Linked DNA regions of Homo sapiens: all the other regions are linked to region 1. Evidence: promoter capture Hi-C in 16 types of primary human blood cells and fetal thymus (Javierre and others, 2016). All regions are on one chromosome and are shown on one strand. The core of a region is centred on a gene start or on the middle of the fragment in contact, and the rest is flanking DNA. Distances in the headings are between cores, read along the strand shown. Region 1 holds the start of RILPL1 (Rab interacting lysosomal protein like 1). Region 2 holds the start of RILPL2 (Rab interacting lysosomal protein like 2). Region 3 holds the start of SNRNP35 (small nuclear ribonucleoprotein U11/U12 subunit 35).

The links. The method cuts DNA at HindIII sites, captures the fragments that hold promoters and counts their contacts. A CHiCAGO score of 5 or more calls a contact.
Region 2: a contact is called between the fragment with the promoter of RILPL2 here and the fragment with the promoter of RILPL1 in region 1, in 1 of 17 cell types (total CD4 T cells). The highest score is 5.3, in total CD4 T cells.
Region 3: a contact is called between the fragment with the promoter of SNRNP35 here and the fragment with the promoter of RILPL1 in region 1, in 1 of 17 cell types (total CD4 T cells). The highest score is 5.6, in total CD4 T cells.

The regions. Positions count from the first base shown.
Region 1 is chr12:123,531,447-123,536,274 of GRCh38, reverse strand. RILPL1 (Rab interacting lysosomal protein like 1) reads left to right here and starts at 2,556. Exons shown (of 7, transcript NM_178314.5): 1 at 2,556-3,101. The coding sequence starts at 2,793. RefSeq lists silencers at 1,628-1,813, 1,833-2,522 and an enhancer at 2,738-3,555. The HindIII fragment of the contact is 17,367 bases long and covers 1-4,828 here.
Region 2 is chr12:123,433,812-123,438,639 of GRCh38, reverse strand. It overlaps RILPL2 (Rab interacting lysosomal protein like 2), which reads left to right and starts at 1,956. Exons shown (of 4, transcript NM_145058.3): 1 at 1,956-2,558. The coding sequence starts at 2,220. RefSeq lists a silencer at 1,950-2,209 and an enhancer at 2,051-2,980. The HindIII fragment of the contact is 15,954 bases long and covers 1-4,828 here.
Region 3 is chr12:123,455,402-123,460,229 of GRCh38, reverse strand. It overlaps SNRNP35 (small nuclear ribonucleoprotein U11/U12 subunit 35), which reads right to left and starts at 2,091. Exons shown (of 2, transcript NM_022717.4): 1 at 2,014-2,091. RefSeq lists enhancers at 672-1,537, 1,784-1,863, 1,538-2,404. The HindIII fragment of the contact is 10,721 bases long and covers 2,026-4,828 here.

The sequences.
Region 1 (4,828 bases), core at 1,307-3,806:
GAGTGCAGTGGTGTAATCACAGCTCACTGCAACCTCTGCTCCCTGGGACTCAAGTCATCCTTCCACCTCAGTCTCCCGAGTAGCTGGGACTACAGGCACTTGCCACCAGAGTCGGGTAATTTTTATTTAATTAATTAATTAATTTATTTATTTATTTATTTTGAGACAGAGTCTCGCTTTGTCACCCAGGCTGGAGTGCAGTGGCACGATCTCGATCTCAGCTCACTGCAACCTCTGCCTCCCGGGTTCAAGTGATCCTCCTGCCTCAGCCTCCTGAGTAGCTGGGATTACAGGCGCCTGCCACCACGCCTGGCTAATTTTTTTTTTTTTTTGTATTTTTAGTAGAGATGAGGTTTCACCATGTTGGCCAGGCTGATCTTGAACTCCTGACCTCAACTGATCTGCCCCCCTTGGCCTCCCAAAGTGCTGGGATTACAGGCATAAGTCACTGCAACCAGACTTTTTTTTAAATAGAGACGGGGTTTTGCCATGCTGCCCAGGCTGGTCTCGAAATCTTGGGCTCAAGTGATCCTCCAGCCCTGGCCTCCCAAAGTGCTAGGATTACAAGCATGAGCCACTGTGGCCAGGAGTATTTATTTTTATTTTTTATTTTTCTGAGACAGAGTTTCGCTCTGTCGCCCAGTTTGGAGCATAGTGGTGTGATCTCAACTCACTGCAACCTCTGCCTCCCAGGCTCAAGGGATCTTCCCACCTCAGCCTCCCAAATACCTGGGACTACAGGCTCTCACCACCACGTCTGGCTAATTTTTTTATTTTACTTTTTTTTTTTTCTTTTTTTTTTTTGAGACGGAGTTTCGCTCTTGTTGCCCAAGCTGGAGTGCAGTGGCACGATCTTGGCTCACTGCAACCTCTGCCTCCCAGGCTCAAATGATTCTCGCGCCTCAGCCTCTTGAGTAGCTGGGATTACAGGCACATGCCACCATGTCTGGCTAATTTTTGTATTTTTAGTAGAGGCGTGGTTTCACCATGTTGGCCAGGCTGGTCTCGAACTCCTGAGCTCTAGAAATTTTCCCACCTCGGCCTCCCAAAGTGCTGGGATTACAGGCGTGAGCCACCCCGCCTGGCCTTAATTTTTTTTTTTTTACTATTTATTTATTTATTTATTGTATTATATTATTATTTTGAGATGGAGTCTTGCTCTGTCACCCAGCCTGCAGTGCAGTGGCGCGATTTCGGCTTGCTGCAACCTCCGCCTCCCGGGTTTAAGCAACTCTCTGCCTCAGCCTCCTGAGTAGCTGGGATTACAGGCATGCGCCACCATGCCCGGCTAATTTTTGTATTTTTAGTAGAGACGGGGTTTCACCACCTTGGCTAGGCTGGTCTTGAACTCCTGACCTCGTCCACCTCAGTCTCCCAAAGTGCTGGGATTACAGGCGTGAGCCACCGCGCCCGGCCAACTTTTAGATTTTTAATCAATACGTGCCACGTTGGGGTGCGCTTTATGGCTACAAGGGCATTAAGATTTCTTCCCTCAAGGAGCCAAGATCTGACGGTGGAAACCTACCTGCAACCACACGGTGAAAACTCAGGATGCTAAGAGCAATCCTGATGGGGCAAGCAGGGGACTGTGAGTTTGCAAGGGGGTCCTTAACTCCTGCGTGGGGGGCGGGGAGGGTGGATGGGGTTCTGGGTTCAGGAAACGTTCTCCCGGGAGTGGGAGGGGGTCTGATGGACAAGTGGATTTGGCCAGCCCAAATGGACAGGGGGCCTTGGGACAAGAGAACTCGTGGTGCTGGAATGCCAAGCGGGCTTCGCTCTACTGTGAAGTGGCGTTCATGTCACAAGGAGCCAGTGATGGATGTGGCTCGGGGAGGCGCGCCCTGGGGCTCCGGGGATCCAGCATTCCTCGACACGTCGGCCCCTCTCCGGGCGCCTCTGCAAGTCCGCCTGGTGGCCGGGTCTGCGCGGAGTGTCTGCGGGCCGGGGGGGGTCCCCGTTCTCTTCCTGGGATGAGCCCCAGCCCGGGGACCTCCTCGTGACCCCTCCATCCCTCTCCAAGGCCGGGGCCGCTACCCGGAGCAGCGAATCGTCCCGCGAGACCAGCGCCCCCGGCCCCCTCTCCCGGGGCGGCCTGGACCCCTCCCGGCGGCCGGGTGGTGGGAGGAGTCAGCGCCGGGCGGGGGAGGGGCGGCCGGGGCACGGGTGAGGGGCGCCGCGGGTCCGGCGGCTGGAGAGGGGGGCCCGGAGTGCAGGCCGCGGAGTCGGCGCTTGGGGGGGTACCCCGGGGCGCCCCCGGGCGGCGGAAAGCGGGCGCGCCCCTGGCCAGGCCGGGATTGGGGCGGGGCGCGCGGCCTCCCTGTGGGGAAGCGATCACCCGGCCTCGCAGCCGCCGCCGCCAAAGTTTCCCGGAGGAGCCGCGGGCCGCCCTTCCTCTCCGGCCCCGCGCTCTGCCGCCCCTCAGGCCCGCACCGCCCCGAGGCGCCCGGCCCGGCTCCATTGAGCGCAACTCGGATCCCAACTTGGGAGGCGCCGCGGGCCTGCGCACGCGCGCGCCCTCCCCGCTGCCGCCGCCGCCGCCGCCGCCGCCGCCGCCCACTCGGGAGCAGCTCCGGGCCGAGCCGGGCGCCCAGACCCCGGGCCCGCACACCCCGCGCCGCCGCCCGTGCCCGCGCCCGCGCCCGCCGCCCGCTGCCCGCTGCGCCCTCGCCCCAGCGCCCGCTGAGCGCGCCCGCCCGCGGCCCAGGCTGGGCCCGGCCGGCCCGGCCCTCGACAGCGGCAAGTTTGGGAGTTGCACGAGTTTGCGGGGCGGGGGACAGGCCAGGAGGGTGGCCATGGAGGAGGAGCGGGGGTCGGCGCTGGCGGCCGAGTCGGCGCTGGAGAAGAACGTGGCCGAGCTGACCGTCATGGACGTGTACGACATCGCGTCGCTTGTGGGCCACGAGTTCGAGCGGGTCATTGACCAGCACGGCTGCGAGGCCATCGCGCGCCTCATGCCCAAGGTCGTGCGCGTCCTGGAGATCCTGGAGGTGCTGGTCAGCCGCCACCACGTCGCGCCCGAGCTGGACGAGCTGCGCCTGGAGCTGGACCGCCTGCGCCTGGAGAGGATGGACCGCATCGAGAAGGAGCGCAAGCACCAGAAGGTGGGCGGCGGCCTCGGTCTGTCCGTCCGGGCAGTGGGACCGCGGGGACCCAAGGGCTCTTCCGCATTGGGCAGCTGTGGGTGCGCACGTGTGTGTGTTCAGGGACCGGACCAGAGGAGACCCGACGTGGGGAGGGAGGGAGGCCCTGGCCTTCTTTTGCCCGACCAGGGGTGGCTGGCAGATACCACCCGAGAGATTAAGAGCTGTTCTCTGGAGTTCCAATCCCACCTTTACCGTTTAATAGCTGTGTGACTTTAGGTAAGTTACTTAACCTCTCTGTGCTTTATTTCCTCACCTGTCAAATGGTAATCATAATAGGACCCACCTTAGAAGAATTAAATGGGACCATATAAGCTAAGTGCTTAGACATATTATTCTCTTCCAGACATGAAATAAGCCTCTTGGCCTCCCGAGTTACCAAGAAGATGTGACATCAGGCCCAGGACCCTTTCTTCATCCCCCCCCCCCCCAGTCTCCCCAGAGCAAAGGGAATGTGACCTCCAGCCACTGAGCTTCGTGACCCCTAGTCTTCGGGTTCATATTTGCAACTTTCTTCCCGGGACTCCCCTAGCTTATGAACCTGTGGTAGCCCGTGTTCTCTCCTCTGATTTTATCCTTAATCCTCACAGGACTCTATAGAGACTATCTTCATTTTACAGATAAAGAAACCGAGGGTCACAGTGGGAGGAGCAATTTGTCCCAAATTAGTGGTGAGAGAGTCCCAGCCCCCGTGTCTCCTCCCCACCCTGTTTGAATTGGGGGAAAGGGATGATTTGGGGTGGCTTTAAGGCTAAGCCTCTGCCCTGTGATCAGGAGTCTCTCTGAATCAGGGCCTCCCCACTGGGCCTGGAGTTCAGACGAGGTTTCTGGAGAAAAGGAAGTGAAAGACATGTGGTTTCCTGCCCTAACCTCAGCCAGGGATGCTCTTGGCAGCCCCTTCAGACTGAGAATGGGAGGAAACACCTTTCCTTGAGGGATCAGGGTGCCTGAGCAGTCTCCAGCTTGCTGTTCAGCCTCAGGAAATACAGATGGCCTCTCTGAACCTCAGGGGCAGGCCATCCCTTATTGTGTACTTTGATGGATCTCTGTGTTTTGGAGTAAAATAGCCAAAGCTGGGTCTGAACCCTTTACCTGAGGGCAGACCCACAGGTAGGTAACAGCACCATTGCCATGTTTGACTGTGCTCGTCCTCATGGGTCCCTATGCCCTAGGGGCAGGAAGGAAACTCAGGCTCCCAAGAGTTGAGCAGCATTTCCGAGGTCACTCTGGGAGCCTGAAAATGCTTTGACCTGTAATTAATTTCAAGACTCCTAGAAGCTAGGACTTTGGAGCTAGACAGCCTGGTTTCAAACCCTACCACTTGCAGGCTGTGTGATCTTGGGCAAATCACCCAGCATCTCTGTGCTTCAGTTTCCTCAGTTCTAAAATGGGATAGTAATAGTACCCCCATTAGAATGTGATGAGGTTTAAAGAGTTAATATAAATACATATAAAGTGTTCAGGACAGAGCCTGCCCATAGCAAGGGCTTTGCAAGTCTTAAAATTCTTTTTAGGCCTGGAGAGACATTCATTGAGGTGCTCACAGGCTCATATTAGGAAACCGTCCCCACCCCAAGCACCTCTACTCCTACCCTAGAGGCCTCCATCTCTCATAGAGGGTCAAGGAGGCAAGGGACCTTGGAAATTCTCTCGTGTGGCGCCTCTTATTAACAGGGACCAAGGGGCTT
Region 2 (4,828 bases), core at 707-3,206, 97 kb after region 1:
CGAGCTCAGGAGTTCGCGACCAGCCTGGGCAGCACAGTGAAACCCCATCTCTACTAAAATACAAAAAATTAGCCAGGCGGGGCGGCATGCGCCTGTGGTCCCAGCTACTGGGGAGGCTGAGGTAGAAGAATTGCTTTAACCAGGGAGGCGGAGGTTGCGGTGAGCCGAGATCATGCCACTGAGCTCCAGCCTGGGCAACAGAGCAAGATTCTGTCTCTAAATAAATAAATAAACAAATAAATAAAATAAAATAAAATAAAATAAAAAGAAACGACCCTCTGAAAATAGTGTGTTTTGTTAATTTGCTTTGCTTTTGTTGGTTGGTTTAATCTATGTACATTCTCCATTGAGATTCTAGTACCTCAGTGTGGAGAAAATGGATACACCTATCACAAGGAAAGCTGCCAATACATTCCTGGGAAAGACAAGCCCCGTTGCTGAGCTTTCTGCCTGAGACTATCACAAACCTCCAGTGAAACCTAAAATAACTTGAGATTTGTTGTGCCTTTTTTTTTGAGACATGATCTTACTCTGTCACCATGGTCCCACTCTGTCACAGGCACCACTCTGTGGTGAGATCTTGGCTCACTGCAGCCTCAACATCCCGGGCTCAAGTGGTCCTCCCACCTCAGCCTCCCGAGTACCTGCCACTACAGGCATGAACCACTGTGTCCAGCTACTTTTGTTTACTTTTTGTAGAGACAGGGTCTCACTATGATGCCCAAGCTAGTCTCAAATTCCTGGGCTCAAGCAATCCTCCTGCGTCAGCCTCCTGAAGTGTTGAGATTAAGGCATGAGCCACAGCGAATGACTCAAGTTTCTACGCCACTCTGCTAATATTCTCAGTAATATGGATTCCGCATATGTGTCGAATGCTTTGTGATTTTCAGACAGGGGTTTCTCTCTTGTTAATTACTCCTCCTTCTCTCACCCAAGTAGCAAGGTGTCTCCAACACCAGCAATTCCTCCCTAGCGCTGTGGAAGAAAGAATGAAGGGGCCGGGCGCGGTGGCTCACGCCTGTAATCCCAGCACTTTGGGAGGCCGAGGCAGGTGGATCACGAGGTCAGGAGATCGAGACCATCCTGGCGAACATGGTGAAACCCCGTCTCTACTAAAAATACAAAAAAATTAGCCGGGCGTGGTGGCGCGTGCCTGTAGTCCCAGCTACTCGGGAGGCTGAGGCAGGAGAATGGCGTGAACCTGGGAGGCGGAGCTTGCAGCAAGCCGAGATCGCGCCACTGCACTCCAGCCTGGGCGACACAGGGAGACTCCGTCTCAAAAAAAAAAAGAAAGAAAGAAAGAAAGAAAGAATGAAGGATTGCAGTCACGTATGTGAGTGCTTCCTAAGTGCTTGAGGTGTCGCACACATGATCTCATAAGCTCATGTTCCTCGCAGCAACCCTGCCACCTGGGTCCCGCTATTGTCCCCATTTTACAGAGGAGGAGACTGAGGCTCGGAGACGTTAAGTAACTTGCCAAGGTGACAGCGCTGGTTACGTGGAGGAGCCGAGGACCCAGCGAAGTGAGCAGGGCAGACATTCTCCATTTTATTGAGAGTCACAGCGAAGTCGGACGCCCCAGGCCCTAGTGACAATTTGCCTGGGAGTTTTCCAGATCCTCAAGCCTCGGGGACTCTGTCGCGCTGCCCCCAGCAGCTGCTTTCTGTTTGGCCGCAGGCTCCAGAAAACACCCTCAAAGAGACACCCGGATCTTCCATCACCTACGATGCAAATTCTACGGCTGGAAAGCACGAGGGTGGAAAGGAAAAAGTTGCGTTCTTTTTACCCCGCTCTGGATTGCACGGTGGAAACTCCGTCTCCACGGAAACGCACCTCCTGGCAGCGGTCGCCAGGGGCGGGGCTCAGGGCGGCTCCTCCCCGGGGCTGCAACTGTTCCCAGGCTGGGGCGATTGCCGTCACCCCTGAACTTCCCCGTTCCTCTTCTCGGCTGCCTCCTTTTCCGTTGTCCCTTCGCGCCCCAAACCACATCCTGGAGCGCACTCTCCAGCGTGGCTGGCAGCGGGGACGGTGCGCCGGGGCGCAGGCCCAAGAGTCGCGTGCGCGGCCCCTTGCACCATCCCCCCGGGCCCACCCCCGGGCCGCGCTGATTGGGCAGGTAGGGACTCTGCCCAGCGGAAAGTTTTGGGTGCCGGGAGGAAGTCTAACCTTTGGGAGACTCCAAGACAGCAGCTCCGAGGTCGGCGGGGGTCTGGGTGGCCATGGAGGAGCCCCCTGTGCGAGAAGAGGAAGAGGAGGAGGGAGAGGAGGACGAGGAGAGGGACGAGGTTGGGCCCGAGGGGGCGCTGGGCAAGAGCCCCTTCCAGCTGACCGCCGAGGACGTGTATGACATCTCCTACCTGTTGGGCCGCGAGCTTATGGCCCTGGGCAGCGACCCCCGGGTGACGCAGCTGCAGTTCAAAGTCGTCCGCGTCCTGGAGATGCTGGAGGCGCTGGTGAATGAGGGCAGCCTGGCGCTGGAGGAGCTGAAGATGGAGAGGGACCACCTCAGGAAGGAGGTGGAGGGGCTGCGGAGACAGAGCCCTCCGGCCAGCGGGGAGGTGAGTGTGGGAGCGAGGGTTCCGGGCCCACGGCGCCTGCGGGGCGTAGGAGGGCACCTACTGGCAGGGAGACGCCTTCCTTTTCTTTTCTCTTCTCTTTTCTCTTTTTTCTTTTTTTAAGAGATGGGATCTCGCTGTGTTGCCCAGGCTGGTCTCAAACTCCTGGCTCCAAGTGATCCCCCAGCCTCAGCCTCCTAGAGTGCTGGGTTTACAGGTGTGAGCCACCCTGCCTGGCCAGAATCTGTATTTCTAACGAGTTCGCAGTTAATGCTGATGCTATTGGCCCAGGGTCCACAGTTTGAGAACCTTTGACCTAGAGCAAGAAACACTTTTTTTTTCTTTTGACACAGGGTCCTGCTCTATCTCCCAGGCTAGAGTGCAGTGGTGCAAACACGGCTCACTACAGCCTTGGCCTCCTAGGCTCAAGCAATTCTCCTGCCTTGCCCTTCCAAGTAGCTGGGAGTACAGGCATGTGCCACCATGCCTGGCTAACTTTTTTGATGTTTTGTAGAGATGGGGGTCTCACCGTTACCCAGGCTGGTCTCAAACTCCTAAGCTCAAGGAATCCTCCCACCTTGGCCTCCCAAAGTGCTGGGCTTGTGGATGTGAGCCACCACACTTGGACAAGAAACACATTTTACCTAAAGAGAAATTAGTGCATATGACCACAAAAAGACATAGACAAGAAGATTCAGAGCAGCTTTAGTCTCAGCTGCCAAACTGGAAACACTCTAAATGCAACCCAATTGAGTTTTGAAATTGTGATATATGGAATACTATGCAACAGAGAAAAAGAACGGGGTGCTGATACACACAGCAGTGTGAATGAATCTCACAGATGTAACATTGAGAGAAAGAAGCCAGGCACTAAAGAGAAACTACTGTAGATTTTTTTTTTTTTTGAGTCAGAATCTTGCTCTGTTGCTCAGACTGTAGTGCAGTGGCGTGACCTCGACTCACTGCAACCTCCACCTCCTGGATTCAAGCGATTCTCCTGCCTCAGCCTCCTGAGCAGCTGGGATTGCAAGCGTGTGCCACCACGCGTGGCTATTTTTTTTTTTTCTTTTTTGGTAGAGACGGGGTTTCACCATGTTGGCCAGGCTGGTCTCAAACTCCTGGCCTCAAGTGACCCACCCACCTCAGCCTTCCAAAGTGCTGGGATTACAGGCCTGAGCCACAGCACCCAGCCCTACTGTACATTTAAATAAAATTCATGAACAGGCAAAATAATTTATAGTTATAGAAGGCAAACTGGTGGTGGGGGGAAAAGAAGGGAAATTGATAGAGAGCTAGAAGTGTCCCATATCTTAATCAGGGTATGGATATAGGGATCTACACATATGTTAAAAATCATCTGGCTGGGTGCTGTGACTCACGCCTGTAATCCCAGCACTTTGGGAGGCCAAGGCGGGCAGATCACAAGGTCAGGAATTTGAGACCAGCCTGGCCAACATGGTGAAACTCTATCTCTACTAAAACTACAGAAAAAAATTAGCCGGGCGTGGTGGCGGGTGCCTGTAATCCCAGCTACTCGGGAGGCTGAGGCCGGAGAATTGCTTGAAACCGGAAGGCAGAGGTTGCAGTGAGCCGAGATCGCGCCACTGCACTCCAGGTTGGGTGACAGAGCGAGATTTTGTCTCAAAAAAAAAAAAAAAGTCTTTTTTGCGGGGACAGCTTTCTCTGTCATCCAGGCTGGAATACCATGGTGTGATCACAGCTCACTGAGGCCTCAAACTCCTGGGCTCAAGCAGTCCTCCCACTTCAGCCTCTCCAGTAGCTAGGACTACAGGCACACACCAACCACCTGGCTAATTTTTGTATTTTTGTAGAGATGGGGGTCTCACCATGTTGCCCAGGCTGGTCTCGAACTCCTGGGCTTAAGTGATACGCCCACCTCAGCCTCCCAAAGTGCTGGGATTACAGGCCTGAGCCACCATGCCCAGCCTAGTTTTTAAAATTCTTGTCGAAACTCATTAATTTTATGACCTACTAGCAGGTCTCCAGCCACAGTTAAAAAAGAAAAACAAAAAAGCTGCTGTAAGTGGACGATGTCTTTTTTAATCCTCAGACTATTATTGTTTTACAAAACTGAGGCACAGAACAGTTAAGTAATTTACCTAAGGACTTCACGGCAAGTTAAGAGGTGAAGTCAGGATCTTAATTCAGAGATGCTAGTCCTAAATACTCCATCCTAAAATACAGACATTTGACCTTACTTGTACTAACATTTGATGAGTGACTGCAGTGACTGATGCTAGGCTCTGGGGCTA
Region 3 (4,828 bases), core at 842-3,341, 76 kb after region 1:
CACACAAACCAGTATTCTGGGTGTCTGAGGCTGAGACCCACCCCTCCTCTCCTGAAGGAAAAGAACCCCTCCCCATTCAACGTTAAAAAGTCACAAGGGGCCCGGTGCAGTGGCTCACGCCAGCAATCCTAGCACTTGAGGAGGCCAAGATGAGCGGATCATTTGAAGTCAGGAGTCACAAGGATCTACCAAATAAAACTGATATTATTGTACACAGAGCTCCTGTTCAAAACTTTAAGACTTCTTCAAATTAAAATGGAGGAGAATTACAAACGGATAAGCATGGATTTTGTTCTCTCTCTCATCTGCATGCTTCTATAGATACTAACAGCTGGTTTCATTGTTTCTCATTAATCTTTCTAGGTGCACTTCCTCCCCGGCAGCATTAGGTTGAGATTTCCTACAACAATCTCTTTCGATTTTTACATTCTCTTTTTTTACTCGAGACAAAGTCTCACTCTGTCACCCAGGCTGGAGTGCAATGGCCAATCTCGGCTCACTGCAACCTCTGCCTCCCAGGTTCAAGTGATTCTCCTGCCTCAGCCTCCCGAGTAGCTGGGATTACAGACACACACCACCACGCCCAGCTAATTTTTGCATTTTTAGTACAGACAGGATTTCACCATGTTGGCCAAGCTGGTCTCAAACTCCTGATGTCAGATGACCCGCCTGCCTCAGCCTCCCAAAGTGCTGGGATTACAGGCGTGAACCACCGCGCCTGGGCCTCATTCTCATTTTACTCATCAACAGGGGATGAGAGCCGAAATGAATGGTGGGGGCCAGGGCGCGGTGGCTCATGCCTGTAATCCCAGCACTTTGGGAGGCCAAGGCGGGTGGATTATTTGAGGTCAGTAAATTTTGAGCTTCAGGATTCTTATTGTGAAATGTAGCTAAATGTCACTTCACTAGGTTTTTGTGAAGATTAGATCATATGGTGTCTATAAAAATGCATTACAATTATAAATTATTATACAAATTTAGAAAATTTTTGGCCAGGCACGCGCTGGCTCACGCCTGTAATACCAGCACTTTGAGAGGCCGAGGCTGGAGGATCGCTTGAGCCCAGAAATTCGAGACCAGCCTGGGCAACAAAGTGAGACCCCGTTTCAATCAATCAATCAATAATCAATTCTCCGGGCGTGGGGTCGCGCCTGTGGTCCCAGATACTTGAGAGGCTGAGGCGGGAGGACTGCTTGACCCGAAATGTCGACGCTGCAGTGAGCCGAGATCGCGCCACCGCTCTCCAGCCTGGGCGACTCCCTGTCTCTGGGGAAAAACAAAAAAATAAATGAAGCCTCTCCTTCCTGGGTCTTCGGGGTAAGACTCTGCCCCTCCTGGCCGGGCACGGTGGCTGACGGCTGTAATCCCAGCACTTTGGGAGGCCGAGGCGGGTGGATCACGAGGACAGGAGATCGAGACCATCCTGGCTAACATGGTGAAACCCCGTCTCCAGTAAAATACAAAAAATTAGCAGGGCGTGGTGGCGGGCGCCTGTAGTCTCAGCTACTCGGGAAGCTGAGGCAGTGGAATCGCTTGAACCCAGGAGGCGGAGGTTGCAGTGAACCGAGATCGCACCACTGCACTCCAGCCCGGGCGACAGAGCAAGACTGTCTCAAAAAGGAAAAAAAAAAAAAAAAGACTTTGCCCCTCCTGTGAAAAGCAAAACTGAAGGCGGAACCCACAGAGCCCTCCAGGGCATGCGCAGTGGGCCTCGGAGGCAAACACCTAAGTTTCTGTGGAAAAGCCTATCCTTCCCATCCAGCCTGCAGCCTGGCCGCCAACCCTCGAGGCCGCTCCCCCGCCCCTCTCCTTCTCTGGGGGCCGCAGGGAGTAAGGCGCCATCCTTCCAATCCAGCTCTCGTCCCCACTCCCCGCAACGCAACCCAGAATGTCGTCCCCTTTGCCAGGTTTCAACATGGCGCCCCACACAAGCGCGGGCACAGCGTCTGGGCCGCACTCCCTCTTCCTTCTCTCCGGCGTGGGGCCCGCTCCTTCCAAGCCGCTTCCACTCACCTCTGCAAAGCTTGGGCTCCCTTCCGACGGAGACAGGCGAGCAGCTGCAGGCGACAGCAGATTCTCCGCGCCGGCCTCGGCCTGACCTTTACATTGGTAGCAGCAGATTCGCCGCCGACGCTCGTTTCCTGTTTGTTTTACCTTTAAAATTTTACTCCCACGCAACGAGGGTGTTATCATCTCCGAAGACAATAAGCTAAAAAAAAATTTTTTTAAGAGAAAAATTGCTAATTCAACAACTAAGTTGAAAGAAAGACTATCGAATATGCAGTTACCTGGGACATTTTACTTTATTATTTATTTATTCTTATTTATTATTTTTTCTTGAGACGGAGACTCCCTCTGTCGCCCAGGCTGGAGTGCAGTGGTGCGAACTCGGCTCACTGCAACCTCCGCCTCCCGGGTTCAAGTGATTTTCCTGCCTCAGCCTCCCGCGTAGCTGGGATTACTGGCGCCCGCCACCACGCCCGGCTATTTTTTGTATTTTTAGTAGAGACAGGGTTTTGCCATGTTGGCCAGGCTGGTCTCGAACTTCTGACCTCAAGTGATCCGCCCGCCTCGGCCTCCCAAAGTGCTGGGATTACAGGCGTGAGCCATCGCGCCCGGCCCCAATTTCTTTATAAAAAAAAAAAAAAAAAAAAAGGCCAGGTGGCATGCCTCACGCCTGTAATCCCAGCACTTCGGGAGGCCGAGGCGGGCGGATCACCTGAGGTTCGGAGTTCGAGACCAGCCTGAGCAACATGGAGAAACCCCTTCTCTACTAAAAATACAAAATTAGCTGGACATGGTGTCATGTGCCTGTAATCCCAGCCACTCAGGAGGCTGAGGCAGGAGAATCACTTGAACCCGGGAGGCAGAGGTTTCGATGAACTGAGATGGTGCCATTGCACTCCAGCCTGAACAACAAGAGTGAAAGTCCGTCTCAAAAAAAAGAAAAATCTATAGCTTAAAATTTTATGTTTGAAAATATATGGTAGCCACTGTCAGTGGAGGCCATCTGCAGTTTCAGCTACTAGGGAGGCTGAGTCGTGAGGCTTGAGGCCAGGAGTTCAAGTTCAGCCTGTCAGCCTGGGCAACAGAGCAAGACCCCTATGTTGTTGTTTGTTTGTTTGTTTTTGTTTTGTTTTGTTTGAGACAGAGTTTCACTCTTGTTGCCCATATTGGAGTGCAATGGCACGATCTCGGCTGACCGCAACCTCCGCCTCCCAGGTTCAAGCAATTCTCCTGACAGCCTTCCGAGTAGCTGGGATTACAGGCATGTGCCACCATGCCCGGCTAATTTTGTATTTTTAGTAGAGATGGGGTTTCTCCATGTTGGTCAGGCTGGTCTTGAACTCCCGATCTCAAGTGATCTGCCTGCCTTGGCCTCCCAAAGTGCTGGGATTACAGGCGTGAGCCACCACACCTGGCTGACCCCTATGCTTTTAAACACACACACACACACACACACACACACACACACACACACACACACACACACGTGGTATGTACAGTACATGCAATGGAATACTATTTCTCCTTAAAAAGAAATGAAATTCTAATTGCTACAACATCATGAATGAACGTAGTTCATGGATGAACCATGCTAAGTGAAAGAAGCATAAGGACAAATACTGTATGGTTCCACTTATATGAGGGACCTAGGATAGTCAAATTCATGGTTGGAAAGTACAGCAGTGGTTATCAGGGGCTGCTGTGGGTGTTAGGAAGATGGCGAGGTATTGTTTAACAGATACAGAGGTTCAATTTGAGATGATGAAGAAGTTCTGGAAATAGATAGTACAGATGGTTTCACAACAATGTGAATCTACCTAATGTTATTTAATAGTTAAAACAGACTGGCCGGGCGAGGAGGCTAAGGCCTGTAATCCCAGCACACTGGGAGGCCAAGTTGGGAGGATCACGAGGTGAGGAGATCAAGACCAGCCTGGCCAACATAGTGAAACCGCATCTCTACTAAAAATACAAAAATTAGCTGGGTGTGCTGGCGGGCACCTGTAATCCCAGCTACTTGGGAGGCTGAGGCAGGAGAATAGCTTGAACCTGGGAGTCAGAGGTTGCAGTGAGCCGAGATTGCGCCATGGTACTCCAGCCTAGGCGACACAGCGAGACTGCATCTCAAAAAAAAAAAAAAAAAAAAAAAAAAGAACCAGGCACGTTGGCTTACGCCTATAATCTCAGCACTTTGGGAGACCAAGGAAGGCAGATTACTTGAGGCCAGAAGTTCAAGACCAGCCACGCCAACATGGTGAAACCCCATCTCTACTAAAAATACAAAAATTAGCCAGGTGTCATAGCGCGTGCCTGTAATCCCAGCTACTCAGGAAGCTGAGGCAGGAGAATCACTTGAACCCAGGAGGCGGAGGTTGCAGTGAGCCAAGATCACGCCACTGCACTCCAGCCTGGGCGACAGAGCAAACTCCGTCTCAAAAATAAATAAATAAATAAATGAAAGTACAGTGGAAAAGGTAAATTTTATGTTACACATACATTAAAATGTCTGTGTACCCTGGTAGCAATAAGCATAACCTAGCACCCGGATCTTGGTTTCTGATATCATTCTCCAATGAAAGTAACCAGTGCTCCTTGGAGAAATAGCTGACTCTAGAACTGGGACAAAAAAATACACAAGAAGCCTGGGTGCAGTGGCTCACACCTGTAATTCCAGCACTTTGGGAGGCTGAGGCGGGTGGATCACTTGAACTCAGGAGTTCAAGACCAGTCTGGGCAACATGGTGAAACCCCGTCTCTACAAAAAGTATAAAATTAGCCAGGCCTGATGGTGCACGCCTGTACTCCCAGCATCTCAGGAGGC